Regions from separate parts of the Homo sapiens genome. Here all the other regions are linked to region 2. Evidence: promoter capture Hi-C in 16 types of primary human blood cells and fetal thymus (Javierre and others, 2016). All regions are on one chromosome and are shown on one strand. Each heading gives the region's core, a stretch centred on a gene start or on the middle of the fragment in contact. The rest is flanking DNA. Distances are from core to core; before and after follow the strand shown.

Evidence for each region. Contacts are between HindIII fragments. The CHiCAGO score rates a contact against its expected background, and 5 or more counts as called.
Region 1: a contact is called between a fragment that was not itself captured here and the fragment with the promoter of RGS10 in region 2, in 4 of 17 cell types (non-activated CD4 T cells, naive CD4 T cells, total CD8 T cells and 1 more). The highest score is 9.6, in non-activated CD4 T cells.
Region 3: a fragment that was not itself captured here is called in contact with the fragment with the promoter of RGS10 in region 2 in 1 of 17 cell types (activated CD4 T cells); the score reaches 5.4 in activated CD4 T cells.
Region 4: a contact is called between a fragment that was not itself captured here and the fragment with the promoter of RGS10 in region 2, in 1 of 17 cell types (non-activated CD4 T cells). The highest score is 7.1, in non-activated CD4 T cells.

The regions. Positions count from the first base shown.
Region 1 is chr10:119,303,454-119,309,845 of GRCh38, forward strand. All of the region lies in intron 1 of GRK5 (G protein-coupled receptor kinase 5), which reads left to right. Among named protein-coding and RNA genes, the nearest start is that of GRK5-AS1, 33 kb to the right of the region's middle. RefSeq lists enhancers at 2,614-2,693, 3,104-3,203. The HindIII fragment of the contact is 531 bases long and covers 2,382-2,912 here.
Region 2 is chr10:119,540,438-119,546,879 of GRCh38, forward strand. RGS10 (regulator of G protein signaling 10) reads right to left here and starts at 2,282. Exons shown (of 5, transcript NM_001005339.2): 1 at 2,153-2,282. The coding sequence starts at 2,201. RefSeq lists silencers at 1,735-1,904, 1,955-2,694, 2,705-2,774, 2,825-2,984 and enhancers at 3,195-3,274, 3,537-4,045. The HindIII fragment of the contact is 10,649 bases long and covers 1-5,163 here.
Region 3 is chr10:119,355,334-119,361,896 of GRCh38, forward strand. All of the region lies in intron 2 of GRK5 (G protein-coupled receptor kinase 5), which reads left to right. Among named protein-coding and RNA genes, the nearest start is that of GRK5-AS1, 19 kb to the left of the region's middle. The HindIII fragment of the contact is 1,444 bases long and covers 1,893-3,336 here.
Region 4 is chr10:119,394,528-119,401,155 of GRCh38, forward strand. GRK5 (G protein-coupled receptor kinase 5) reads left to right here. Exons shown (of 16, transcript NM_005308.3): 4 at 2,168-2,245. Among named protein-coding and RNA genes, the nearest start is that of MIR4681, 20 kb to the left of the region's middle. The HindIII fragment of the contact is 9,117 bases long and covers 1-6,628 here.

The DNA.
Region 1 (6,392 bases), core at 1,397-3,896, 240 kb before region 2:
GGCGAAGGCTGTGCGATGAGCATGAGCCGCAAGGGTCTCCATGGGCCGGGAGGAGCTCAGAGTGTCTGGAGTGGAGTGTGGGCCTGGGGCATAGTGGTTGTGGGGGAGTCACGGGAGGCATTTGGACTTGATTCTAAACCTGTTGGGAAGTCATTAGAGGATTTCAAATGAGAGAATTCCATGAGTTGCTTTGGGTTTGCATAACTCTGGCTGCTGGGTGGAGATAGTTTGAAAGGGGCAAGAACGGAGGTGGGAGGGGAGGAGGCTGGTCCAGGTGAGGATGCTGGCCTGGTCCAGTGGCAGCCCTGGGGCCATAGGGAGGGGGACAGGTATGGATTTCACTGCAGAGCCCAGACTTGGGGATGGATCCAGTGTGGCATGGAAGGTGGGGGAGGGAAAGTGAAGGACCCCAGCCGTCCCTTGGGTTTGGGGCTCAACTAGGGCTCCTTTGATCACTCATCTCCCACTGCATGGTGTCCCTACAGCCAGACTCAGGGTCCTTGCCTACCCTAAAGCGCCAGGGTGGTGCTGGCCCTGCGTCTTCAGGATCATCTGGGGAGGGCTGACTCACCTGCCTTTCTGGATCCAGAAGGCGGAGGGTGTGGTGTTACCTGGTGCTGGGGATGTTGGAAAACTCAGAACCTGGGCTTTATCTTGACTGTGTTTAATGACTCAGCACAAATCTAGAGACATGACCAAGAGGCAGCTTTGAGCAGCCCTGGCTGAAGGACCAGAGCAGTGGGATGATGTGGCCTGTGGAGGAAGGAAACCTCCACCTGGAACCTTGAGGGGAAAGCAGGGCAACAGCAGTATGCTAACTGTGTGAGCTGCTTTTTTTTTTTTTTTTTTTTTTTTTGACAGGGTCTTGCTCTGTTGCCCAGGCTGGAGTGCAGTGGCATGATCTCAGCTCACTGCAACCTCCGCCTCCTAGGGTTCAAGCAATTCTCCCTGCCTCAGCCTCCTGAGTAGCTGGGATTACAGGCGTGTGCCATCGCGCCTGGCTAATTTGCTGCTGTCTGTTGAGTGCTCACTGCACATGGGCTTCTGTGCATTTCCCCGTCATTCCTCACAACCCTAGGCGGCAACATTGACATTCTTCTTCCCATTTTGTGGATGCAGAAACTGAGGCTCAAAGAGCTTTTGGCCTAAGGTCATCCACCTAGCGAGCAGCTGAGCTCACCCACAGGCCCCTGAGTCCCGATTTAGGGAGTCTATAACCAGCACCCAACACTGTCGCCAGTGCACCACGCTGCCTGCTCACCAGCCATCCACCAAGGGCTGGCTCTGTGCCTGTCTCTGTCTAGGGGTAGGGCATGAGAACCGACCCCATGCAGTCCCCACCCAGAGATGCTTGCCCTGTGCACGCAGATGCGGACCAGCAGGGCATTTGCAGAAAGGCAGTTGTTCGCTTAATGAGAGGTGTTTGGGCAACTCCCTCCTTCTGTCCCTCCCTCCCTTGCTCTTTTCTTCCTCCTTTTCTTCCCTTCCTTCTTCCCTACCTGTTTTTCTTTCATCTCTCCCTTCCCTCTCTCCTCTCCCACCCCCTCCCTTCTCTTCTTTCCATCTCTCCCTGCAGTTTTTCTTTTGCTGACACCTGTTTCTGAAAAATCTTGGGTGTCTGGCTGTGGGGAGCTGCAGGAAAGCCCAGATGAGGTCTCCTGAGCTTCACCTTGTGGTTGGCAGCGAGGACTTGACCTAGAGCCTCTGACCTTCCACCTCCCTGGGCTCTGAGCTCCAGAGTCCCGTGGTCCTCCAAGGCTGTGGGAACCCGTGGTCCCCTCCCTTGCCTTTCCTCTCTTCGCTGACAGAACAAGGGGCCGGCAGAGGACATGTCAGGTGTGTCTCAGAGACCTGGGGGAAGATGGGCTCAACATGACCTGCTTCTGGGGTGACACCTCTGCTCACTCACTTATTCAAGCATTCACTCGTTCACAGACATGTCAGAGGTCTGCTGTGTGCCAGGCACATGTCCTAGGCACTGATGAGCAAAATGGACGTGGTCTCTGTCCTCTTGGGTGGAAGCCCCATAAAGGCATAAGTGAAAATTTGCTGACAAATTTTGATAGCTGCTTTTTCAAAGCCAGACACTGACTGAGGAGTGGTGGGAGAGAGCTGTGTGGGTATGACTTGGATTGATTGATTGGGGATGATCAGGGAAGGACAAGACCCTAAGACCTGAGGACTTGGCCGGGTGAAGTAGGGGCAGCAATAAAGTGCCACTCCCCGGGAGACACGTGTAAGTGCCCAGAGCAACGTCATTTGAGAGGTAAAAACCTGGAAGACCTAACCTACGTGTCTCTCAACAGGAGAGTGGATGGAGGAATTATTTTGACAAAACCTGTGGGTATGCAGGTTTAAAGAAATTTTGTTCCCATTCTGTAAGCTTGAAATGTTTCATTGCAAAAAAGTGATTCTGGAAATGTGTATCTAGCAGAGGAAATGACATATGCAAAGGCCCTGAGGCAGAAAATAACTCCCAGTGAGGAAGCAGGTGACGGCCTGACCACTGTACTTCCGGTATCTCTGCTCTCAGCCACCCCTGAGACCATGGAAAGGCTCCGTGTTGAGCCCTTGGAAGGCCTCCCTGGGAGTCCTGGGTGTCAGCTGGAGGACTGTGTGATGGTGAGGGAGTTGAACCACTGGGGCAGTGCCCGCCTGGGCTGGATTTGGGGGAGGGGGGAGCCTTTTGGATGAGTCAGTCCTCTCTGGTTGGAAACAGCAGAGTCTAGTTGAGGCTCTGCCAAGGACCCGTGGTGATTCTTGTCGCCTTTTGTGGAGAAATTTGCCCGCTAACAGGCCATCTGTGTGAGGTGAGTCACTGTTTCCCCCGTTTTGTTGATTGCAGACACCTCTGTGTGAGTCTGTTCAGCCTGAACTGCACACACCGATAAACTTCAGTGCCTGGATGAGCAAGCTTCCTGTGTGCTTCAGCTTGGGGCGCATGTGCGCTTCTTCTAGGATTTTCTGAAACTTGGTCAGGGGCTCCTGGATCATGATTGCAGATTGAGAGCCACTGAGCCATTCCAGGTCCTGTTTTCTGATGTGAAATGGAAGCCCAGAGTGGGGATGTGTCCAAACCCACACTGAGATCACACAGCGAGGGAAGGAAGCCGGGGTCCTGGCTGACACTTGCGGGGCAGAGCACCTTCTCTTGGCCCCGAATATGGATTTTGGTGTCCCTAGTCAAGATTTGTTCTGCTGACTTCTCCTGGGGAAAGAGGTGTCACGTCTGCCTGAGCCCCTGAGCCTGGTGGGTGGGGTGTGAGGATCTGGCCGGGGCCGCTGCACCTGCAGGTGTTTCCTGCAGACATTCTGCTGGGGAGCACTTCCCCTCTTCTCCCTCCAGGTGACTCACTGGGTGCAGTGTCCTCTAGCGTCTACTGGGTGCAGGGCACTGGGGAGACATGGGGGATGCTTCTTTGGGCTCGTCTGTACTAGGTATGGTTATAGGGTACTGGGGGTTGCCTAAAAAAATGCTGTGTGACCTTGATGGCTCACTTTTTCTCCCTGGGCCTCTGTGTCTCCAGCCGTCAGTGAGGAGCAGGCGTGGGTGATCAGCAAGGTTCCTCTCAGCTCTGATGTCATTCATTCTGAGTTAGGTGGAGAGTAGGGGATAATTGCAGCCCTTATTCACTGAACTTTCTTAACTATGCTAAATGCTTTACGTGCATCAGCTCATTGATGCCTATATCTATGTGGTTACAGAGGAGCCAGTTGAAGCACAGAGAGGTTGAGTAAATTTCCTGGAGTCACACAGCTAGTAAATTACATACCTGGGTTTAAACCCAGGCAGTCTGGCCCTGGAGCATGCAGTCTTAATCACTGCATGATTAAGGCTGAATCATGGTCCCCTAAAGATGTCGTATCCGAATCCCTGCAACTTGTGAATATGTTACCTACCTGATAAAAGGGCCTTTTCAGATGTGATTAAGTTAAGGCTGTTGAGATGGAGAGGTTATCCAGGGATATCAGGTGGGCCTGATTAGAGGGAGAGTGGACTGTGCCTGTGAAAAGGAGTTCAGAGTGATGCAGCTTGAGAAAGACCTGACCAGCGACTGCTGGTTTTGAAGGTGGAGGAAGGGCCATGAATTGAGCCAAGGAATAGAGGTGGCCTGTAGATTCTCCCCTGGAGTCTCCAGAAGGCACACTGCCCTGCCGACACCTGGATTTAGCCCGGTGAATCTGATTCCAGACTTCTGACTTCTAGAACTGTAGGATAATACATTTGTGTCTATAGCACTCCATTTGTGCCGTTAATAACTTGTTACTGAAGCAAGAGGAAACTCATGCAGCCATGCTCTACTCTGGTCTCCTGGTGGCGAGCCCTCCTTTCTGCATACACACTGGATTTTGAATTCTGAGGGGTAACAACCTCATCTTGCCAACAGAGCCCTCCTTGGCCATTTCACAATTCAAGAAGCATTTTCTAGGAAGCCTTTTAAAGCCCCACTGCCTTGCCCCAGCTTGCTCTGTTGTGTCACAGGAATGAGGTGGGGAGAGGACAGAGGGAAAGGGTCATGGGGAACCTGGGGCCCCAGCCTATACCCTGCCTCTATGAGGCTCCATCTGAGCACCCACCTCTCCAGGCATCGTCCTTGGTCCCCTGGGAGTGGGCACCCATGGCGGGTCTGCACTGTATGCCCAGTGCGCCTTTGTAGGCCGAACCTGCAGGGTCAGAGCTGGGTCTAAGGCTGCTCCCCAGGTCCTTGCAGGAACATAAGTGCCCGGGTTTATCTTTGGGCACTAGAGCTGTGCCCACAGCAGCTCCTGTTCAGATCTGGATCAGGGTCAGGCCCCCATCACTGATTGCGCACCCCAGGCACGCCTCACCCTGCCCCGGCCTCAGCTTCCTGATCTACAAAATGGGTGTCATGCTGCAGCCCTGCCGAAATTGTGTGCTCATGGTAGAAGTGACTGGGAAGAACTCTGCGTGTGGCAAGGGCTCTCGCTGCTGCTTCGGTACAGTCATCTGTAGGGTCATCTGTGACGTATGGGCCAGGCGTGTGCCCCCTCAGAATCCTCTCTGGGTCCCCTGACTCCTCCCCAGGAGCAGCCCACTCCATGGAGCTTCCCTTGGCCCCAAGTGCTTGAAGGGAAAGGTGAACACAGTCGGGATGACAAAGTTAGGAGGCGTGTGTTTTTCTTCCCGGTGACGTTGGGCCGGTCAGCCCGCGTCTTCGTAGCTTCAATGGCTTCTCCTGTGCCACGCGGTGGGGGAGCTTTCTTACGCCTCGTTCTGAGGATTAGAGACAATGGCTGCACAGGCACTGTGGCTGCCATGCTCAGGCCTGCCCTCGCTCCTGACCCCCAGGCCAGCTGCTTCCTGGTTCCAGGGGGCCAGGAGGAGGATCTTAGTGTTAGCCTGAGATCCTGGGCAGGTCCAGTTCTGAGGCAGGGGAGCCCTGTATGGATTTGGGGGAATGCTGGCAGGATGGCCTGCCGGCCCTTTTCTCCCCACTTCCCAGACGGAGCTGAAGGGAAAGGACTCTTCCCTGAGGGAGGCAGATCTTCCCAGGGCCTGTCTGGGAGCTCCCTCCAGTGAGGAGGCTGGTGCTGAGGCTGGGAGGGCTGGTGCCCAGGGCCCGGGCTCTTGAGCCTAGATGGAAACTGGGGCCACCTTCGGAGTTCTTGCCACATCCCTGCAGGGCTGGTGCGTGAGGGACCGTGTGGTCTCTAAGAAGAGAGGGTTCAGCCCAAGGGTCACCTCCTTCAGGAAGCCTTCCCTGATTCCACAGGCAGGGTTGATTGTGCCTCCCCTGTGCCCCCTCAGCCCCTCTTCCTCTAGTATTGTCACCTGGCATGGGTCAGTGCCGCCCACGAGCCTGTGAGCTCTTGTAGGGCAGGGGCCACGTGCCAAGCACCAAGTAGGTCCTCGATATGAGTCTGCACAGTGGATGGAAGAACTCTGGGGGAGGCAGAGCCGAGCTCAGTAAGGCCTTGGTGGGAGGGAAGCATGCTGGGAATGCAGGGTCCAATGGGAGTGTTGAGGGAGGTTGAATCAAGGACAAGGAAGGGTCCTTTCAACCCCCAGGTCCTGTGACCCTATGTGAGATCAAGAGTCAGGGCAGAGTAATGGCGACAGCTCACATTTACTGAGTGCTAACCACAATCTCACTTTGGCCCTAGCAGCCTTCTTAAGAGGGTGGTGTTTCCCCATTTTACGCTTGAACAATCTGAAGCTCAGAGAGGGTAAGCAGCTTGCCCAGGGTCACAGAGCTATGGACAGAGACCAGATGTGAACCCTCATCTCTGTGTTGGAATCCTCTCTACAGGTGCCTCTGTGCTGTGCTGGTTTTTGCTTCTGTGGCTTCAGACTTTGGGGGAACGTTCTTAGGACCCAGCTCTTGCCTGTCCCTTGAGCCAGCATCATCCTTGTGGACTGGGAGTTAAGA
Region 2 (6,442 bases), core at 1,032-3,531:
GACGGGGTTTTGCCATGTTTCCCAGGCTTATCTGGAACTCCTGGGCTCAAGCAATCCTCCTGCCTCAGCCTCCCAAAGTGCTGGGATCACAGGTGTGAGCCACTGAGCCCGGCCTGAGACCGACCTTTCTGTCAGTGATGTAACCACATTTTATGAGGTTTAAAATTTGTTGCCCTGAAATAATTTGTTCCCTAAAACTGCCTTCAGCCTTTTTGGGGTGCAACCTGGCTACACGCAAAATCACCCCAAATCCATGTATCTCCCAGGATACAATGGTTCTATCTGTCAGTCTTCAACCCAAAAGCAATCTAAAGTAATAAGTAACGCGTACAGGGCTATTCATAGCAGCTCTATTTATAACAGGCAAAAGGGAGAAAAGCTACTAATTATTACACTTTTATTATGTGCCACACATTGTACTAGGGGCTTCATATGGTTTTGAGTATTTAATCCCATAACCCTATGAAACCCACTTTGCAGGTGGAGAAAGGTGCTGGAACATCAGCTCTCCTGAGTCAAAATGAAGCCTTCATTTTTAGCTTTGTTGATTTTCATGATGTAAATATCCCATCATAACTACTTTCAAGCTACCTATGGTTTACAACCAGTTTCCAAACTTTTTGAATATTTGGCAACTGGCTCTTGCAAGCCAGTTTGAGCCAGCTCCAGCACATCACTGAAACGGAGGCACAGAGAGATCAAGTAATTTGCCCAGTGTTGCTGAATGACAGAGTCAAGGTTAGAACCAAGAGTTTAATTCGAGTCCAGGCTCTGAGCAGCGCTCCACAGGCCTGTGCCAACCATAGAGACTGGTTAACATTAACACCCACAAGGGAATTCTTTGACTCACATGCAACACAAAAAGGTTTACATGACCACTAACGCTAACGGAGCACTTAGTACTTGCCGGGCAACAATGTAAGATCATTACAACAACCCTATGAAATCCTACATATTAAATACAATAATTTGCAAAACCTGATGGATGGAAGACAGGTTCCAATTAAGTACTTTAAAAGGCGAGTAGCTACTGTTATTCCCACTGTGCAGAACCTCATTCTGCAGAAAGGTCCCACGGCTGGTGAATATGGCGAAGGTGAGATTCGGATCCAGCCAGTCTGGTCCCAGTCTCTAAACCACAATGTCCCTCATAAAATACCAGGAGCAGAAAGGAAATGCACCAACGCGTTGGGACTCTGAGCGCCAAGCAGAAGTGAATCTTGGCGTGGGAAGCCCGGCAAAGCCCCCGAACTTCAGAGTCAGGGGAACCTGGGTTTGAAAGCCTCCCCATCACCTGCGGAGTGTGACTGGGGCAAGTTACCTAACAGCGCCTGGCTTCCGCTCCCTCCTCACTCACCGGGTTGTCCTAGGGGTGAAGGGAGAGTTCACCCAACGCGGTGGACAAAGCCCTTGGCGCACCCAAAGGCCTGCACAGGTCGTAGCTATTGTGATGAGCAAAAGGGTGGAAGGACCGGAATCAAGGGCACGGCTCCACCTTCACCGTGGGGTCTTTGGCCTATCAAGTTGCCCGAGATCGTGGCTCAGGCTGGCCCAAAGTGACGGCCAAGGCGAATCCTTCGTAACGTCAGAACTTCGCTGGCTCGGACCGCAGAAGTGCCCTTCTCCATCCTGGGGTTCCGCCACCCTCGCGATCCCACCTTTTGGCTCCTCGCGGCAGAAGCGAAGGCCCCCGACGCCCCAGGCCCAGGGGCCCAGTCGGATGCCCGGGTCCAGCCGTGCTCCCCCGGGCGCTCGGCATCCTTCCACCCACGCCCGCAGCGGAGGCGGAGAGCGTCACGGAGGGAGAAGCCCGCGCGCCGTTCCGCTTTCGGAATCTGGAGCCCCATGTCACCTCCAAAGTTTGGAGATTTGGGGCGCTCCTTTTTCTCCCAGACCATCACTAAAAAGAAAACTGCGGCTGTTCCTCTTTCAGCCAAACTTCCTCCCCGGGGCTCCCGGAGGAGCTCTGCGCTCCCGTCGCGGCTGGGACCGCGAAGGTGCGGTACCCAGCGGGGAGAGGTGGTGCGGTCGGCCGGGGCTCCAGTCTGGGAGGTACCACCGAGCCGCGCCCGAGCACAAGAGGGAGGGCAGGAGGCCGGGCGGGCGAAACGGCGCCCCGACCCCGAGCCCGCGGGCCCCCGAAGCCGCTTACCTGACGGCGGCCGCTTCCTGCTCAGCCGGCTCACGGCGCGGTTGAACATCGCCGCGGGCGCCCGAGGAGGAAGAAGGAGCAGCCCGGCGGCGCGGCGGCTGAGCCGGAGGAAGGCGAGGAGGAGGAGGAGGGCGAGGAGGAGGAGGAGGAGGGCAAGGAGGAGGAGCGGGCTCAGCACCGCCCCGGAGCTCTAGGTCCCCGCCCGCCGCCCTCCTCCTAGCCAGGCGCCGCGTGGCGCGCTCAGTGCGCCCTGCCCGCCCCCGCTGGTGAGGACTCGCGGTTCCGCTCCGGGGTGCCCGGGCGGGGCAGGGCAGGGCAGCCCCGGGTGACCCCCGATCGCCCAGAGTGTGCCCCGCGCCTGGGATAAGGTGCACTGGCCCAGAGGGAGCCCGCGCCGCCGGGAACTTAGTAGCCCCGCGGAGGCGGTTAGCGCGTCCCGGGGTCCCTGGCCCTCGCCTGAGATGCCGCCCCGGCCCGCCCCGCCCAGCTTCAAGCTCCCGGGCCCATCGCGGTCTCCCGCCTTCTCCCTGTAGCCCCGGAGAAACTGGCACGGCGCCGCGGGCGCACCGCGCTTCGGGGCTCTCAGCGAGCCTTCGCAGGTGGCGGGCGGGGTCCCCTCCCGGGTCACAGGCTGGGAAGCCTAGGCCTCGCGGTTCTGCAGAGTCCGGGCGCGGCCCAGCCTGTGGCCTTTGCCTCCTCGTCACCAGGATCCCCGCCTGCTGGGGCCTGGCTGCTCCTCGACTTCGTGGGCGCTGCGCCTTCCCGCCCCGCGAATGCGGGTGGGGCGTCCCCAGGGCCCGTGCGCTGAGCTAGCCGAGCCGCCGCGGGTGGGCGCCCTCTCCCCGGCCGTGCCGCGCGGGCGCCAGGACTCGGGGAGATCTGAGAGGATTCTGCAGGAACCCCCCGGTTCCTGCGCCGGGCGGTGCTCTGTCCCGCACACCGCGCTCTCGGGACACTTCTCTAACTTTGGGGACACGTGGGCACTGCCTCTGGCAGGGCCTTCAGGCTCCACGACCGGGACCACTCAAGCCCCCACGGCGTCACCTGCTGGGCGCTGCGCGCTCTACGGTCTCCTATTATTTCATTTCTTCTATGGAGCAGCCCCAGAGGGGATGTCATTAGCCCCCATTTTCTTGAACATTTGGTTTGCAAGAAATTGTCTTTCTGGCGAGTTTTATTTTTCTCCTTGTGTATCTGGCTTTGTCTCTAAATTGGTCTTTATTTTTAGCTGTACTAATTGCTATTTTTCCAAACCGTTCCCCAGTCGCCCTCCCCCCATCCCCCCGTCCTTTTGCAGTTTTTTTCACTACTTGGCACTTTCTTTTGTATCTTCTATTCTGAGCTTCCAGTTCTGCTCACTTTCCCTCTCCCTCTACCCACCCCACAGCCCCAGTTGCACCCCAAGTGTGGCCGGTGGTTGCTTGTTGTTTCCCTCCCCGCTATTCCCCCTCCAAAAGTCGTTTTCCTCCGAGCATTTCCAAGCACTCTCCCCCTTCTGCTGCCAAAAGAGGATTTCCAGGCTCCTGAAGCGAACGCGGTGACCAAGAACAGGGTTAGACCCAGCGCGGGGAGTTCTGCTTTTAAAACTGCTGTTGTTGGCCTACTCCGGGCCCAGACAAACTTCCATCTCATTGTAATGGGATCAAGCTGTGATACTTAACTATAGGCAAGAGTTTCACCTTTCGTAAGAGCGGGATTTTAAATGCTGGCAGAGTCCTGGATCCAAGTGAGGTCACTGCGTTCTTAAAACAATAAGGGAATTGGTGCAACGCACTCACCCAGAAAACTTCCCCGAGACCAAATTACAAGTAATCCTAAGACAGGAAATAAGCACACTGGCACACAGGGGTAAAAGTTAGGCACAGCAGCTCAGTGTTTTGCTAGTTGCCAAGTCCACCCTAGCGTGTCCTGAAAAACACTGGTGTGGCTTAAGACATGCTATGAATCCCTCCTGAGCTAAGAACCCCAGGCATCTCTTAAATAAAGGGAAAATATAACAGCCTTAAATCACTTTTACTGTCCTGTTAGCACATCAGAGAGTAAGTACAAAAATTAAGATGCATAGTTAGGGCCAGGCGCTGTGGCTCACGTCTGTAATCCCAGCACTTTGGGAGGCAGAGGCAGGCGGATTACCTGAGGTCAGGAGTTCAAGACCAGCCTGGCTAACATGGTGAAGCCCCATCTGTACTAAAAATACAAAAATTAGCCAGGCCTGGTGGCAGGTGCCTGTAATCCCAGCTACTCAGGAGGCTGACACAGAAGAATCACTTGAGCCTGGGAGGAGGAGGTTGCAGTGAGCCAAGATCTGAAGGAGGAGGTTGCAGTGAGCTGAGATCTCACCACTGCACTCCAGCCTGGGCCACAGAGCAAGACTCTGTCTCCAAAAAAAGGAAAAAAAGGCCGGGTGCGGTGGTTCACACCTGTAATCCCAGCACTTTGGGAGGCCAAGGCGGGCGGATCACCTGAGGTCGGGAGTTCGAGACCAGCCTGACGAACATGGTGAAACCTCATCTCTACTAAAAATACAAAATTAGCCAGGCGCGGTGGCAGGCATCTGTAATCCCAGCTACTCAGGAGGCTGAGGCAGGAGAATCGCTTGAACCCGGGAGGCAGAGTTTGCAGTGAACTGAGATCGAGCCATTGCACTCCAGCCTGGGTGACTGAGCAAGACTCCATCTCAAAAAAAAAAAAAAAAAAAATGCATGGTTAACGTTTAAGTGCACAGTTTAAAATTTTTGCCTGGGACATTGAAATTGCTATAAATACCTGTTTTAAGTGTCTGAAGGTTCAAAAGCCAGTTTTCAAAGTGTATTGTGCAAAAGACCACGTATAAAAGTATAAAGCCTCCTAACTCCTAAAACTCGCCAAATGCACACACACATACACACACACACTCACACACACACACACACACACACACACGATTAAGTTCCAACCGTGGTTTGCATTGGATTGAAGGTGCTCACCATCCCAATGGCATTTTTCCTGTAATTCCAGCATGCACTTTCTGAAGCTTTTTTTTTTTTTTTTTTTTTTTTTTGAGACAGAGGTTTCACTATGTTGTCCAGGCTGATTTCTGACTTCTGGGCTCTCAAGTGATCCTCCCTCCTTAGCCTCCTAAGTCAAGCCTTCACAAACAAACTGCGGTAGCCAGTGTGGGGAAGAAGAGGATGAGCGGTTTAGCCCCTTTCTTCCCCTGCTGGTCTCACTTTTGGTTCAAGGATGTTTACATCAGGCAAGAAGCAAGAGCCCCGGATGTCTTCTGGTAACACAAGATTTCAGAGGGATTACTGGCTTTGGAGTTCAATATTTTCATTCTACCCAGAAACTAAAATATTGGTAAGCTGTGAATACATTTTAGAGCCTCTCATCACCAGAATTTATGTAACAAGACTATTCTAGGCCAGTTGAGGCAGACAAGGTATAGTAAAATGAATAAGTGGCCAACTTAAAGTCAAGAGACCTGGGTACTAATCTGACCAAACAGCAACCAGCTGTGTGGACACACCAGATGTGTCCTCAAACACATCGTAGCCTCAAGGGACAGGGCAAGGAGAGGTCCACCTACACTCCGAGCAAGTGGTATTCAATAGCAATAAACAAAAAAGCATCTGGCATCGTGCCCAGCACATGTAGGCACACAAAAAATTACTGGAATTTTAATTACTCTTACTCCCCCTACAATGATGTTTTAATAAATGATAAACTTTATGGTACAGCCAGTCAAAAGTGGATTTCTTTTCAATTATAGGAAATTGGCAGGGTTAGTAACACTGATGTTCACATTGTTACTACACTGTGAAGGAGGGAAAGTAAATTGTTACAACCTCTCTAGAAGGAAGAGAAGCAGATGTGTTAATATATGTATTTGACAACACATGTAAGAGTCTTCAAAATGTTTATACCTCTTGGACTAGTGAATAATTCTATAATTGGTAATTTGTGCCAAAAGAAAAACAATAAATGATGCGAACATTTACGTGTACAATTAAACATAACACTTCCTTTTATCAGGGTTATTTACAGTAGCTAAAAATGCCCGCTAAGAGAATGACTAAGGTATAACATATTCTCCTGATAGAATATTTAACAGTTATAAAAAACTGTGAAGAATCTTTGGAACTTGGTGGAAAAAACTAGTGCAAAGAGAAAGATGAAAGAATCTTAGACGAAGCTCTCGTTGAAAAATCAGGATACAAATATAGAGAAAATTTTCAGTGTGGAGGAAGAGGAGAATACGGTATGTTTATACCTAGAAAGCTAGCAGTTAATTACACCTAAATATTACTA
Region 3 (6,563 bases), core at 1,365-3,864, 180 kb before region 2:
TATAAATAATGCTGCAATGAACATATGAGTACAGGTATCTCTACGAGGTGCTTATTTTATTTCCTTTGGGTATATATCCAAAGAGGGCTTGCTGGGTCATGTGGTAGTTCTGTTTTCCAATGTGGAAAATATTAAAAGGTATAACCCACATAAATAAAAGCTCCTGGCTAGGTGTGGTGGCTCACGCCTGTTATCCCAGCACTTTGGGAGGCCAAGGTGGGTGGATCATGAGGTCAGGAGTTTGAGACCAGCCTGACCAACATGGCGAAACCCCTGTCTCTATTAAAAATACAAAAATTAGCCAAGTGTGGTGGCATGCACCTGTAATCTCAGCTACTCAGGAGGCTGAGGCAGGAGAATTGCTTGAATCTGGGAGGCAGAGGTTGCAATGAGCTGAGATTGAGCCACTGCACTCCAACAGCTTGGGTGACAGAGCAAGACTCTATCACAACAACAACAACAACAACAACAAAACTCCTTTGGGATCTATAATAATTTGTAGAGGTATCAAGGTGTCCTGAGTCCATAAAGTTTCAGAGTCACTGCAGTAGAGGGAAGAAAAGGACAACAGAAACAGTGAAACTTAAATAGCATTTCCTGAGCCCTGAGAAACAACCGATGCTATATAGTTATTTTTTCACTCTAAGATAACTCAAGATAGAAACTTTTAAATCTAGAGAGCTGATAAAGTAAGATAATAATACATTCTGCAGGCCTAAGAACCCTGATCTGGAGGATCAAGACTGGGTCATGCATACATTGCATTAGACAGCGACACCTAATGAACAACAATGGTATTACAACCCAGCTCTATGAAACCAGGGACTAGCAAGAGTAAATGCTGTATTCAGACTAAAGGACATAGATAAGAGCACATTCTGTCAGGCAGAGTATTTCATTATTTGATATTCTTAGACAAAACAAATTCTCAGGGTGTGGAGGGCAATTTACAAAATATATAATGACAGTTCATTTGCTTAGACCTTCTTCCTTAGTTAAGTTGAATGTTAGTGGTCCATCAGGGAATCTGGAGCATAGAGTAGAATCACAATCACCTTGGACTTATAAGAAATAATTCAAAGACTTTATAGAATCAGTCTCTAGTCCCAGAATTTTATGTTTTTACCATGTTCGTGGCTCATGCTTTCTTGATTTCTGGCATCCTGTCTGATTTCTGAGTTTGGGCTAGCTAGAGTCTTGTTTGTCTATCTTCTTGATGCCCAATAAGATCAGCCCCTTTACTGTGCCTGGATTTCTATATCCAGCATTACCTAAATCCAACTTTACACAGGCTTTGGGCTCTTCCAGTTCCTCTTCTGCCCTTTAACCCCATGTGTGCCCCAGAACCATCCACAAGGAGATGCCAAGAATAGAGAAGATGAACAACAACAACAACAAAACAGAACTGCAGCCCTTCTGTATGCTTCAGTCTCTAGCAGGCTCAGCCCAAGCCACTACCGATCCCTTTTCTCACAAGTTTTCAATGCAATCTACAGGAGGCTTTGTATTCTCATATAGGAACCCTTCTCAAAACTGATAAAACGATAAAGGCTTTGCTTTACTAAAATTTGCTGTGCCAGCCCTCTCTTTAGCAACTGACCAGTGCTGAGCTATCTCATGCTACCTCTATGGCATTGTCAAAGAAGGCAGGGAATGTCTTTGCCCACCAAAGAACAGCATGTGTGTGAGGCCCATGCTAGGGAAGAAAAAATTCTTAACAAAGTGAGGTGTGAAGGTGGCTGGGGGCCAACTGGACCCTGGAGCCCAAGCGAAGTGAAGTGATGCCAGATGCCTTGCCCTATCAAAGTAATGAAAGTGATCTGGAAATGGTGTTTTTTCTCATTTTAATGACAGAGCAGGGCTGGGTAAGGAATAACTGTAAGTGCAGATGAAGCTTGTTTATGCTCCAAAGATAAAGTCACAAATGGGGGGTAGGGTGGGCTGTGGCCTTCCCTTGCTCTAGGCAAATTCCCTCAGCACTAGAGAAGGTGCCTTCCAAAGGGCCTGTGTTGTGTCTGCAGTTCTGTTCCCAGGGAAGTGGAAGCTGAGGCACCTGTGGTAAAGCCCCTCATGGGAGCGGGGGTCAGGGAGATGTTTGGAAAGGCTGTGGCTGATAATGAGACGCGGGTAACCCTGGTGGATATCGTTCCATCCTGGTGCGTGCCTTCCTGGTTGCCTCCTGCTGCCTGCTCCTGGGGAGTGGAGTGGGGGAAGCATTAGTCTGGATTGTTGTTGGCTTGGTTGCCTTCCAGAGGCCTGCATCCAGGTGCCAGGGAAATTCTGACTGAAGTCCATTCAACAATAGCAATAGCGGCTCACACTCAGGCCTGCTGGCCCCACCATTGACAGCTTTGCATGAGCTTCTTTCCATGCAAGAGGGCTGTCCCCAGGTTCACTCCCCACTTCTTGTTCTGCTGCCTGCATTCTTGGCCACGTAGTTAAGTCTCCCTCCCTTTGTGCCCCCTTTATGTCTCTGGTCTTCTCCAACATTAGCCATGCCATTGGCAGGGTGGGGGTGGGTGGTGGGGCACGCTTCCTGACTCGGATGCCTTGACCCCACAGGGACTGAGTTTTGGACAAGGTGCAGCGGCAGCCTCCCAAGCCAGGGGTGGGCAGCGTCTGCTGAGCAGATCCTGGTCCTCTCGGGGTGGCTGCATCAATCACACCCAAAGGGGAGAGGCCTCAGTATGGAAAGTATGTGAGCCTTGGATGGAATCACGGATGGCCCGAAATGGCTTGGCCCCTTGTTTCTAAGGCCCCGGCTGGTTTCCCCATTGTGCAGTGGGGAGGGAGAAAGGGGCCAGCTTGCCTGAGTTCCTGGAGCACGAGTGAGAGTCCCTGAGCCACAGGTAGGTGAGGGCAAGGGTGGCAGTGTTTTGGGGTGTCCACGCAGCATGCATGGCTGGTCCTAGCTCGGATGTTGTCTGACAGTCACCCATGAGGAACAGGAGTCCCTCCCATTACTCAGCCAAGGGCACAGAGTGATTATGCCCGGGGTGTAGCAAATGCTCTGCAAATAGTAGCTGCTCTGACCATGTGATTTGACTGGCATTGCCCAGATGCTGAGTGGTGGTGCCAGGATTGGACCTGTATCCATCTCATGCCTCCACCCAGGCCCTCCACCCGGCAGCCTGGCCGCCTTCTCCTGGTCCTGGTCCCCTTGCCCCCAGGAATTGAGGCGTGCATGGTGCATTTCCATCTCCCAAATCATGGTCCTGTCTGTGCCCTCATCTGCTCCTCTTCCACAGGCCTCTCAGGGAGGCAGGCAGGGCAGAGTCAGCAGCCCCATTTTAGAGACCAGGAAACTAAGGCCCAGGGATTCCTCAGAGGTCACCAAGCTTGTAAATGGCAGCACTGAGCCTCAAGCCTTGCTCTTTGGATCATCCACTTTGTATTAGTCTGCTCAGGCTGCTATGACAAAATACCACAGAGTGGGCGGCTTAGACAACAGGTATTTCTTTCCTCACAGTTCTGGGGGCCACAGTTCAAGATCCAGGTGCCTCAGGGCTGGCTTCTGCCCTTGCTGGTTTGTAGATCCACTGTCTTCCTGTTATGTCCTTGCCCGGCCTTTCCTCTGAGCTCTCTGGTGTCTCTTCCTCTCCTCCTAAGGACACCAGCCCTATCAGTTAGGGCCCCACCCTGAAGAATTCATTTAACCTTAATTACCTCCCCAAAGCCCCACCCCCAAATATAGTCACATTGGGGGTTAGGGCTTCAACATATGAATTTGGGGACAACACAGTTCAGTTCATAACACACCCTGAGCCCCCTCCACTGTTTGGAGTCCCCTAGGTCACACCAGGGGGGTTGCTGGTGCTGTGCATCAGAGGAGCCATTTGGAGAGACTGTGCCAGAGGCCAGGGGTGGGGCTGGGGCAATCCAGGAAGGCTTCCTGGAGGAGATGTGTGTACACACGAGAGGGCTTGGGGGCAGTACATGCCCTTACGGGGGCCTATTTCAGGGAACCCCACATGTAATCCACACCAGTAACTCAGATGAGCTGTAGCTGTTTTCCAGGAGCCACTTTCTCTCCATGGTTATGGCAAGAGGGGAGCCTCCGGGTCCTGCGTGGCCCAGCAAGGCAGCTGTGGGTTGATGCAGCAAAGCAGGTTGTGTTTCCAGGTCATTCGTGTGGAAGGGAATGGGATCCCAGGTGGGCAGGGCCAGGCAACAAAGGCCAGAAATCGAGCTGAGCACCCACGAAGCCTTCCTCAGAGCAAAGACCTGCAGAGGGGACCACTGCATGTGGCAGCTGCCCCAGATGCTGTGGCCCTGGCTGCTGTGGGAGGGTAATTTTTGTTAAGATGAACTAAGTTGGGACTGCATCTCACACAGTGGCCTTTGTATAAATTCGCTTGCCTTCCTCATCCGGTATCTGTCCCCTCTTTGGTTCACACCCTGGATGCAGGTGTTCGGGGGAATGTGCATTGCCACACTTAGAACATTCAAGTTTCTGCCATCCCTGTGTTTCTGGAGTGACAGTGATGTTCCCGGGGGGGAGGTGTGGGTTCATGCAGCAAGTCCCATGCAGAGTCCGGGGCAAATTCAGGTCCTGAGTGAGGTCGTAGTGGGTACCTGGCTAGCAGGCTGAAGGGAGGTTGAGGAGATTGAGGAGGCTGAGGGGGCTTGAGGAGGCTGGGGAGGCTGAGGAGGCGGAGGGAGGCTGAGGAGGCTGAGGAGGTGGAGGGAAGCTGAGGGAGGTAGAGGGAGGTGGAGGGAGACTGAGGGAGGTGGAGGGAGGTTGAGGAGATAGGGGGAGGCTGAGGAGGCCGAGGGAATCTGAGGGAGGCAGGGAGGGAGGCTGAAGAGTCTGAGGGGGTGAAGGAAGTTGAGGGAGGCTGAGGCTGAAGGAGGCTGAAGGACTCTGCTCTTTGGGTAGAACTTCCTGTTTCTCATGTTTCCTCTCTGTAGACCACAGTGCCCAGCCCTGCCCCAAAGCAGAGCCAGAGCTTGTGTCCATTTCTTGGGTGTGTAGTGTGCCTTTGGCTTCTCTTTAGTTGTGCCTTGGAATGGCACACGGGGCTGGGTGGGATTCTGGAGGCGCTTAGTGGGTGGCTTCTCAGAGCTCAGGCCACAGCCCTTGTGAGTGGGAAGAGTCTGTGTGAGTGGGAGGAGCCTGTGTGAGTGGGAGGAGTCTGTGTGAGTGGGAGGAGCCTGTGCGAGAGGGAGGAGCCTTGTGAGTGGGAGGAGCCTGTGTGAGTGGGAAGAGCCTGTGTGAGTGGAAGGAGCCTGTGTGAGTGGGAAAAGTCTGTATGAGTGGGAGGAGCCTGTGTGAGAGGCAGGAGCCTGTGTGAGTGGGAAGAGACTTGTGAGTGGGAGGAGACTGTGTGAGTGGGAGGAGCCCCTCTCGCAGCTCCATGGTCAAGTGTTTGAGGCTAAGTTAGGAGAAGATGGTCTGTCCGTCCTCTTCCTCCCTCCTCCCTCCTCCTCTTCCACACCCGGCCCGGGGCCCTTTGCTCTGGGTCATGCTCTGTTCCCAGGCCCTGTGGGGATGCTGGGAACCCTGGGAACACAGCTCCCTTCCTGCCCGAGGCCCTGAGCGTTCTGAGCCTGTGGCCGCTGCTTCTCTGGTGGGAAACGGTGGTTTCCTCTTGAGGGAAGTGTTAGTCGCTGCCTTTCCCTCCCTCTGATTCCCAAGGATGAGTCTCTTTGGGACAGCAGGTGCCTCTGGGAAGGTCTCCTGGCTAGGTGGGCTCTGGCTCCCTGGGAGTACTGTGGGCTTTGGAGCCAAAAAGACCTGGACGCAGATCCCAGCTCCTCCGCTGATGCACTGTGACCTTGGGCAATGCACAGACCTTAAACTGGCTGTGCCCTGGTTTTCTGTCCAGCAGGACCGGGCAGTGCTGTCCACTCTACAGTGGAATGAAGGCAGAGAATGGCGCATCAGAGGTGCGGCTCATGGCAGGTGCTAAACACTTGGGAGTGTCTGGGCGCCTGGTGCGGGAACATGAGCAGAAGCCCCACCCCACTTGGATGTCTGGTGGTCTTCGCTGCTTTCTGACTGCCTAGATGGGGAGGCCTCGAGGCCATCATGATTCAACCATTCTCTTACTCAGCAAGCCCTGACCACCATTCATTCATTCATCCATTCACTTCCGAGAACCTGCCGCGTAGTAGGCCTTGTTCTCTGCACTGGGGCACACAACCATGGATAAGACAGACCAGGACTTGTGCTCCAATTCTATGTTGAAGGTGAGGGAAGAAGTTAATTAAGCAATCAGCCAAGCGGATTTCAAAGGACAGCTGTGCTGCACGCCACTGAGGAGACGTGAGAGGAATCCTGGCTAGGGGCCTATGCTGGGTGCCCGGCAGTGGGGGAGGCGCAGAGGGGGTTCAGAATTGAAAGGCTGGGTGCGGTGGTTCATGCCTGTAATCCCAGGACTTTGGGAGGCTGAGGCGGGCAGATCACTTGAGGTCAGGAGTTCGAGACCAGCCTGGCCAACATGGCGAAACCCTGTCTTTACTAAAAATACAAAAATTAGCCAGGCGTAGTGGCGTGCACCTGTAATTACAGCTGCTCGGGAGGCTGAGGCAGGAGAATTGCCTGAACCTGGGAGGTGGAG
Region 4 (6,628 bases), core at 1,736-4,235, 150 kb before region 2:
GGTGTGTATCTGTGTGTGGGGGCACGTGTATGTTTGGGTGTGTGTGTGTCTGTGTGTGGGTGTGTGTCTGTGTGTGGGCACGTGTATGTTTGGGTGTGTGGGTGTGTGTGTGGGTGTGTGTGTGGGTGTGTGTATCTGTGTCTGTGGGCACGTGTGTGTGGGTGTGTGTGGGTGTGTATCTGTGTGTGTGGGGGCACGTGTATGTTTGGGTGTGTGTGTGTCTGTGTGTGGGTGTGTATCTGTGTGTGTGTGGGCACGTGTATGTTTGGGTGTGTGGGTGTGTGTGTGGGTGTGTGTATCTGTGTCTGTGGGCACGTGTGTGTGCACACATGTGCACTCAGGTTTAGGAGAGCGACAGGGGGCACAGAGGAAGAAAATAACAGGAAAAAGTCAAGAAGAAAGAGCCACCTTAAAGCATCTCAGGAATTCATCTCTCGAGTCAAATCATCAAGAAGTGCCCAGTCCCTCAAGGCTCATCTTGATGTGGAAGAGGAGTTGACCTCTGGGGAGAGGCTCTGCCCACGCGGCGCAGTGGGAATCCAGAGGCCAGCGCGCCAGTCCAGCAGCTGTGACCTTGGACCTTGGGCAAGTCCCTGACTTCTCTGAGCCTCTGTGTCCAGCCCTATAAAATGAGGGGTGGGATTCCTTACAGAACCACTGCCCTATCTCCCTGTGATCTAAATGATTGTAGTGTTCATGTTTCTTCATGGGAGAAAATCATTGGATCTTGGCTCTCCATTAGAAGAGAGAGGGCAAGACAAGGACACTCGCTCACTGTGGTTGGAAACGAGCCTGGCTGCCTCTGTGGTCACTGCGAGTGCCGCCTGCGTGCTCCCTTTGGCTGGCCTGGGAGGAATCGGACCCTAGACACTGAGGTGTGAAGTTTCCCTGAGGGCCGGCTGGGCATCTGACTGCATGGTGGGACGCCTGGGGAGGAGTTCGGGTCCGTCTATGCTGGTGTCATTTCCTTCCTCTTTTGAAATAGCTGTACTTTTGGACAGAGGCTGACAAATCCTTGGGTGGTGGATTTTGAAATGGTTATAAACAATTTGCAATTAGCTCTTTTGTCTAAATGAGAAAGGGCCGCTTACTCAGGCTTTTTATTGACTCGAGGCCCTTTATCCATGTGGCGAGTGCGTCAGATGTGAGCGAAGGAGCCCCTCTGGGATTCAGGGAAATTAAAAAGTCTGTTTTTTGGAGACCTCCCATCTTTAGAGCTTGGGCCCCCTGGCTTGGCTAGTTATCAGAGTCCTAAATTCTGTGGTGTGGTTGAGGAGAAGCCCTGCGCTTGGAGGTTCGAGTCCCAGCCCTGCCACCTCCCGCTGCATGACCCTATGCAAGTCCCTTCCCACCGCCGGCCCTCGGGATCTCCACCTACAGACGAGGGGTTGGGATGGCAGCCCCTGTTCTCCTGCGTCACTGCCCTGGCTCTTTCGAGGTTCAGATAAGAACATCTTAAAAAACCTGTGTATGTTCACTTTGTAAACTGAAAAGCTGGAAAAGACCAGGCATCCACATTATTGTTTATCCTTGCAAGGTGTAATAATCACAATGGCGGTAACTATAGCAACTGTTTATTATTATTTATGATGGGCCAGGCCCCAGGCCAAGAGCTTGATCACTTCCGTCTGTATAATCAGTGTATACCTAGGTGCTGGTACCATCTGCGTTTTATAGAAGGGTTAAGCAAATTGTCTACGATCACACAGCTTACAAGGTCTGAGTGACCTAAGGCAGCTTCTCGGCAGCCTTCCAGTCTGGTGGGCTGTTATTTTTCTGGTAGTTTCCTTTGATTCATCTAAGTCAGTGGTCTTCAACCCCGGCTGCCCAGGTGCCAGCCCTCATGGCCCACTGGAAAGCCTGGTTTCATGGGTCTAGGGTGGGGCCTAGCATCAGTGTTTGCTCAGGGCTCCCTGCTGATTCTGATGTGCAGTCTGCATGGAGCACCGCCATCCTGAGACCCAGCATCTGTGAGAGAGGGCAAAGTAGTTTGGACTAAACATCGGGGCTCCGTGGCCAGGTCTTCCCCCCCGGTTTCCTGACCTGCAGGAGAAGGGGGTTGGTCAGGTGGCCTCTAGGGGATTTCCTCCAGGGGCTGTGAGGTTCTGTAACTATAAGAAGCTCATGAGCAAACCTGTTATTGTTCTTTTTTCTCCTTCTGTTTTAGGCAGAATATGAAGTTACTCCAGATGAAAAACTGGGAGAGAAAGGGAAGGAAATTATGACCAAGTACCTCACCCCAAAGGTAAGGAGTCTTCCAAACCCCACAGCAGGTGGCACAGGAGGCCTTATGCAAAAATAGGAGCCCCTAAGTCTGTGCCAGGCCACATGGGGAGCTGTTAAGTGCTGGGCTGGTGGCTGTTGTTGACCTCCTGAGATCACAGTTCCCATCCTCCCCCAGAGAGTGCCCAAGCCTGGCAGGGCCAAGATGGGGATGGTCTAGGCCAGGACTGGAGTAGGGGCGGGATGCCTGCTTCTTGGGGCCCAGCCCCTTCAAGGGTCACCATGCTGCTGTGTGCCCACACCCAACCATTTGTGGTAGGGCAGATGGAGGCCTGGCCAAGTTCAGGAGAAGTGCCCAGAAGGAAGGGCTTAGCAGGGCAGTTCTGAGAGGTCAGCGTGGAGGGGAAGTGTTGGGGGTTGACTGGGAGGGAAAGGGGGTGCCCAACGACATCAAAGAATGAAGAGAATTCTGAAACATATTCTGGAGTATTCTGAAGGGTCAGGGGCCACCCCGACCCCACCTCGGGGCCACCCACTGGATAGTTGAAGCATCGGGGTACCATTGTCCTCAGGGTCCAGCAGCCTCGGTTCTCCAAGATCTGCTTCCTCTTGACTCACCTTCACAGAAGTGTGTTCTCAACCCATTTAGTGTTCTAGTGTCAGTGGTTCTGCCCACTTGGTCAAGCCACATTCCCTCCCTGGGCCTCTGTTTCCCTTTCTTAAAAGTGGCCTTCCTGTCAGACTCACCTCCCGGAGGTGTTGAGAGCCTGAGATGGGACCTGTGTGGGAATAGCTTTGCGTGTGTCCCATCCCCCGGGGCCAGTGGTGGCTTCACCCTGCTCAGGACCCTGTGGGCCAACCAGCTCCCCGGAAGAGTATACCTCCTGGTGCCCATCCCAGGCTGCCAGTGGACTGAGGTCACCACAGCCTGTGGAAGGTCTTGGCCATCAGTCCCCTCAACCTCCTGCACCTCTTGCACCAAATGTAGCCCTCGTTCTTCTCCAGCATCAGCAGTTGGTAGTGGCCATTGCCCTTGCAGGGTGAGACCAGCCTCACGCCCAGAAGTGTTGCCCTTTGTCACGCCCCACTCTGGACAGCCTGCTAGACGGCATTCCTAATGCGCACACAGTCGCCATCACCTTGTTGCCTCCCCTTGCTGTTTCTCTGCTGCATCCATCATAATCCATGCACTTCTCTTTCTGTGAACTGCAAACACCCCCAGCCCTTTTGCACTTTTCAGAAATGACAGAATTTATGTTTATAAAACACTTCTAGGCATAGAATAGGGCTAGTTTGCTCTGGACAAGGTGTGGCCCTGGGTAGGCACAGCTGCCCCCACCTTGGGGGCCTTGCTATGCTCCAGATATGGGCCTGTTGCTGTCTGTGAGGTTCTCAGGTGGACACAGACGAGGAGACGTTCTCAGCAGGGTCCCTGTTCACCCAGTCGCAGCCGATGTCATATTGGTGGGGCTCTGGCTAGATACATTTTTGATCTCCTGGCCACCACTCAAGATAGTGTGGACACTCTGGGCATAAACACATGCCCTGAGCTTAAAGGGGTGCATGCACCCTAGAGGGCATAATGATGACAGCTCCCTGGCTGGGCTCCTATGGTGTGCCACATGCCTCCGAGATGTCTCTGATGATTCGCGTATCCACGAGATTGCCCTATTTACAGACAGGCCACTGAGGCCACAGAGCTGAATAGCGTGAGAGGCCACTCTGCTGAAGGGGTCTTCAGCTACCCTCTGCAGAGGCATCTTCCCACGGTGGCTCAGCTTGGCCCAGTCCAGCGCTTCATCTGTGCCCCCATAGGGCTACCCAGTCACATGTGTCCCCCCCAAACAATGGCAACTAGAATGTATTGAGGACTCCTTGTGTCAGGCACCACTGTCTATAGTCCTTGCTGTCACTGTGGGATGCAGATTATATTTGTTCCATCTTACCGATAAGGAAGGAGAGGCTCAGGGGAGCTGTCACATCCCAAGTCACACAACTAGTGAGTGGCGGAGCTAGAATTTGAACCCAAGTCTGGGTGATTCTAGAGCCCTGAGTGTTTCCCCTGGGTGTAGTCTCCTCACCCGGCTTCACTGTCCTGCCACTGTCTGTGGCCTGGCTCTGATCTGCAGTGAGGGCGGAGTGCTCCCTTTGCCTGACCTTGCTGTCTGGATAGGCTCTTGTGGCTTAGCCAAGAACAGGGTACAGGCAGGCACTGGGGCAGCCACTGAGGGCTGCCACCGGGTTGCCCCGTGGCCAACCTTGTCCAGAAGCCCCTGCTGGCAGCCCCTGACCTGAGCTCTCCAGACCTCCCTAGCTCTGCTCAGCCTTGCCTCCATCTCCTGGAGGGATGGGGCCCAGACACCCCCATCAGCTCAGACGGTTTTACAAGTGCCTCAGAGCCTGCCAGCATTTTTTCCCTTAAGTTCTCCTCAATTTAAAAAATTTAAGCCACACCATATGTTACGGCCAGGGAGGCCTCCAGGGGAGGTGGTTGATCCATGCCTTGGGTCAGCTGTTTCCCTACAATAAACTTTGCACTGCTTTCCCAGTTCTTCCCATAACAGCTTGCTCTGGAGCCTCATTTACCTCTCACGTGCCCCAGTGCCCCAGATGCAGCGAAGCAAGGTGCTGGCTGAGGAGCTGAGCGAGTGACTGAGGCCCCAGCACTGGCTCAGAAGACTTTGACCAACTGCAAAGCCACTGTCCCCAAGCCCAGATTGTCCTTGCCTTGGGACCCCTCCTCAGTATGTAGCTTGTGTGTCTCAGCTCTGAGCAGTGCTTCCCAAAAGGTAGACCATAGGAGAGTGGCCAGTGGAGAAGCTCTGTGAAAAAGAACCCTCAGTGGTCAATTACACGTGGGCAGCACTGTAATACCATGTCTCCCCCGGTAGATTCACTCAGCATGTGAGCATATTCAAGGCTCTGAGAAGTCCTGCAAGAAAGAAACCTCTTTAACTGTTACCAAAGCATTTCTCAAAGTTATTGACCATAATTTTTTTTCAATTTTCCATTCTGCTGAGCACACTTTGGGCTACAGAACACATCCAAGAGCCTCACGCCCACACCTCCTTCTGCTCCAGCATCCTTTCCTGGGACCTCTCCTGTGGCTTCACACTGGACTGTGGCCACACCATTTCCTAGGCTCACCTGGATGTCCATACCTTGTGGCCTTTGTTCAGGCTGTGCCCCAGAAGGCCCTTTATGAAGGCGCTGTCCCCTACTCTGTCTTTCTCGCTTCTGTATCCCTGCATGTATTGAGGACACTTGTGTCAGGCACCACTGTCTGCAGTCATCTCCAACATCCCCAGCTGCACAGAGCCTCTTCTGCCTCTTGTCAGAGTCCGTTGGCCTCACCTGGGTGGTCTCTGAGCACACTGTTCCATTGTTGTGATTCTGTGCCCCATGATGGGGATTCTGAGGAGCCCACCTTCAGAGTAGGGCCAACACATAAGCAGATTAACCAAATGCCCCACGATGGGAGCAGTGGTGGAGCTGTGCTCAGGGAAGTGTGGGGTCAGGTGAGCTAGAGGACGCTTCCAGGAGGTGATGCTGCTGAATCAGATCTTAAAGGATGTGGAGGAGGAAGCTGGACACAAAAGAAGGGGAAGGAGGAGCGGCCTTCATGGGTGCAGTGCAGTGGGCATTTGGGGCTATCTGGAGATACTTGTAATTGGCAGAATTGTGGGGGAGGGAAGTGCTCCTAGCATCTGATGCGTAGAGGCCATGGATGCCGTTGAACATTCTAGAGTGCACATGGCAGCTTCCTACCCAGAGTTACCTGGGGGCAAAATGTCAATAGGGCTGAGGTTGAGAAACCTTGGCACAGAGGTAGGAAAGCGCACAGGATGGGCAGTGCTGTGGGGGTGGGAATGGGGAGGGGGCCCCTCTGAGCTGTAGGCCCTGGGAAGCCATGTTGAGGTGGCAGCAGTGTGGAGTTGCCAGTGCTTCGAGTGCCACTTGTATTTTAGGACGATCTCCCTGACCACATGGAGGAGGAATAAGGGGGATGAGGAAGGACTGGAGGCAAGAGGCCATCTGGGGAACAGCCCCAGGTCCCCAAGCTGGGCCAGCAGCCTTGGGGATGGGGAGGAACAAAGGGCCTTGCGAAACGGCAGAAGGAGGATGCCCTTGGGCTTTTGTCTTGAGTCTCTGGGTGTATGGGGGTGTCCCCAGGAAAGACAGAGCACAGGATGAGGGCCGTGGGAAGGTCCACCTGCTCTCGGCAGAGGCAGGGGAATTCATTTTGGATGGAGACAGTGGCATCTGCTCTCTGTGTCCCCGCCCCAGCATGACGCTGGACACATGGTTCTCGATCAATGTGAGTTGGTTGGAATGAAACACTGAGGGGAGCTCTGGAAGCTGCCCTCCATGGGCCCGTCAGCTCTCCTGTCTCATGTCTCTGGGG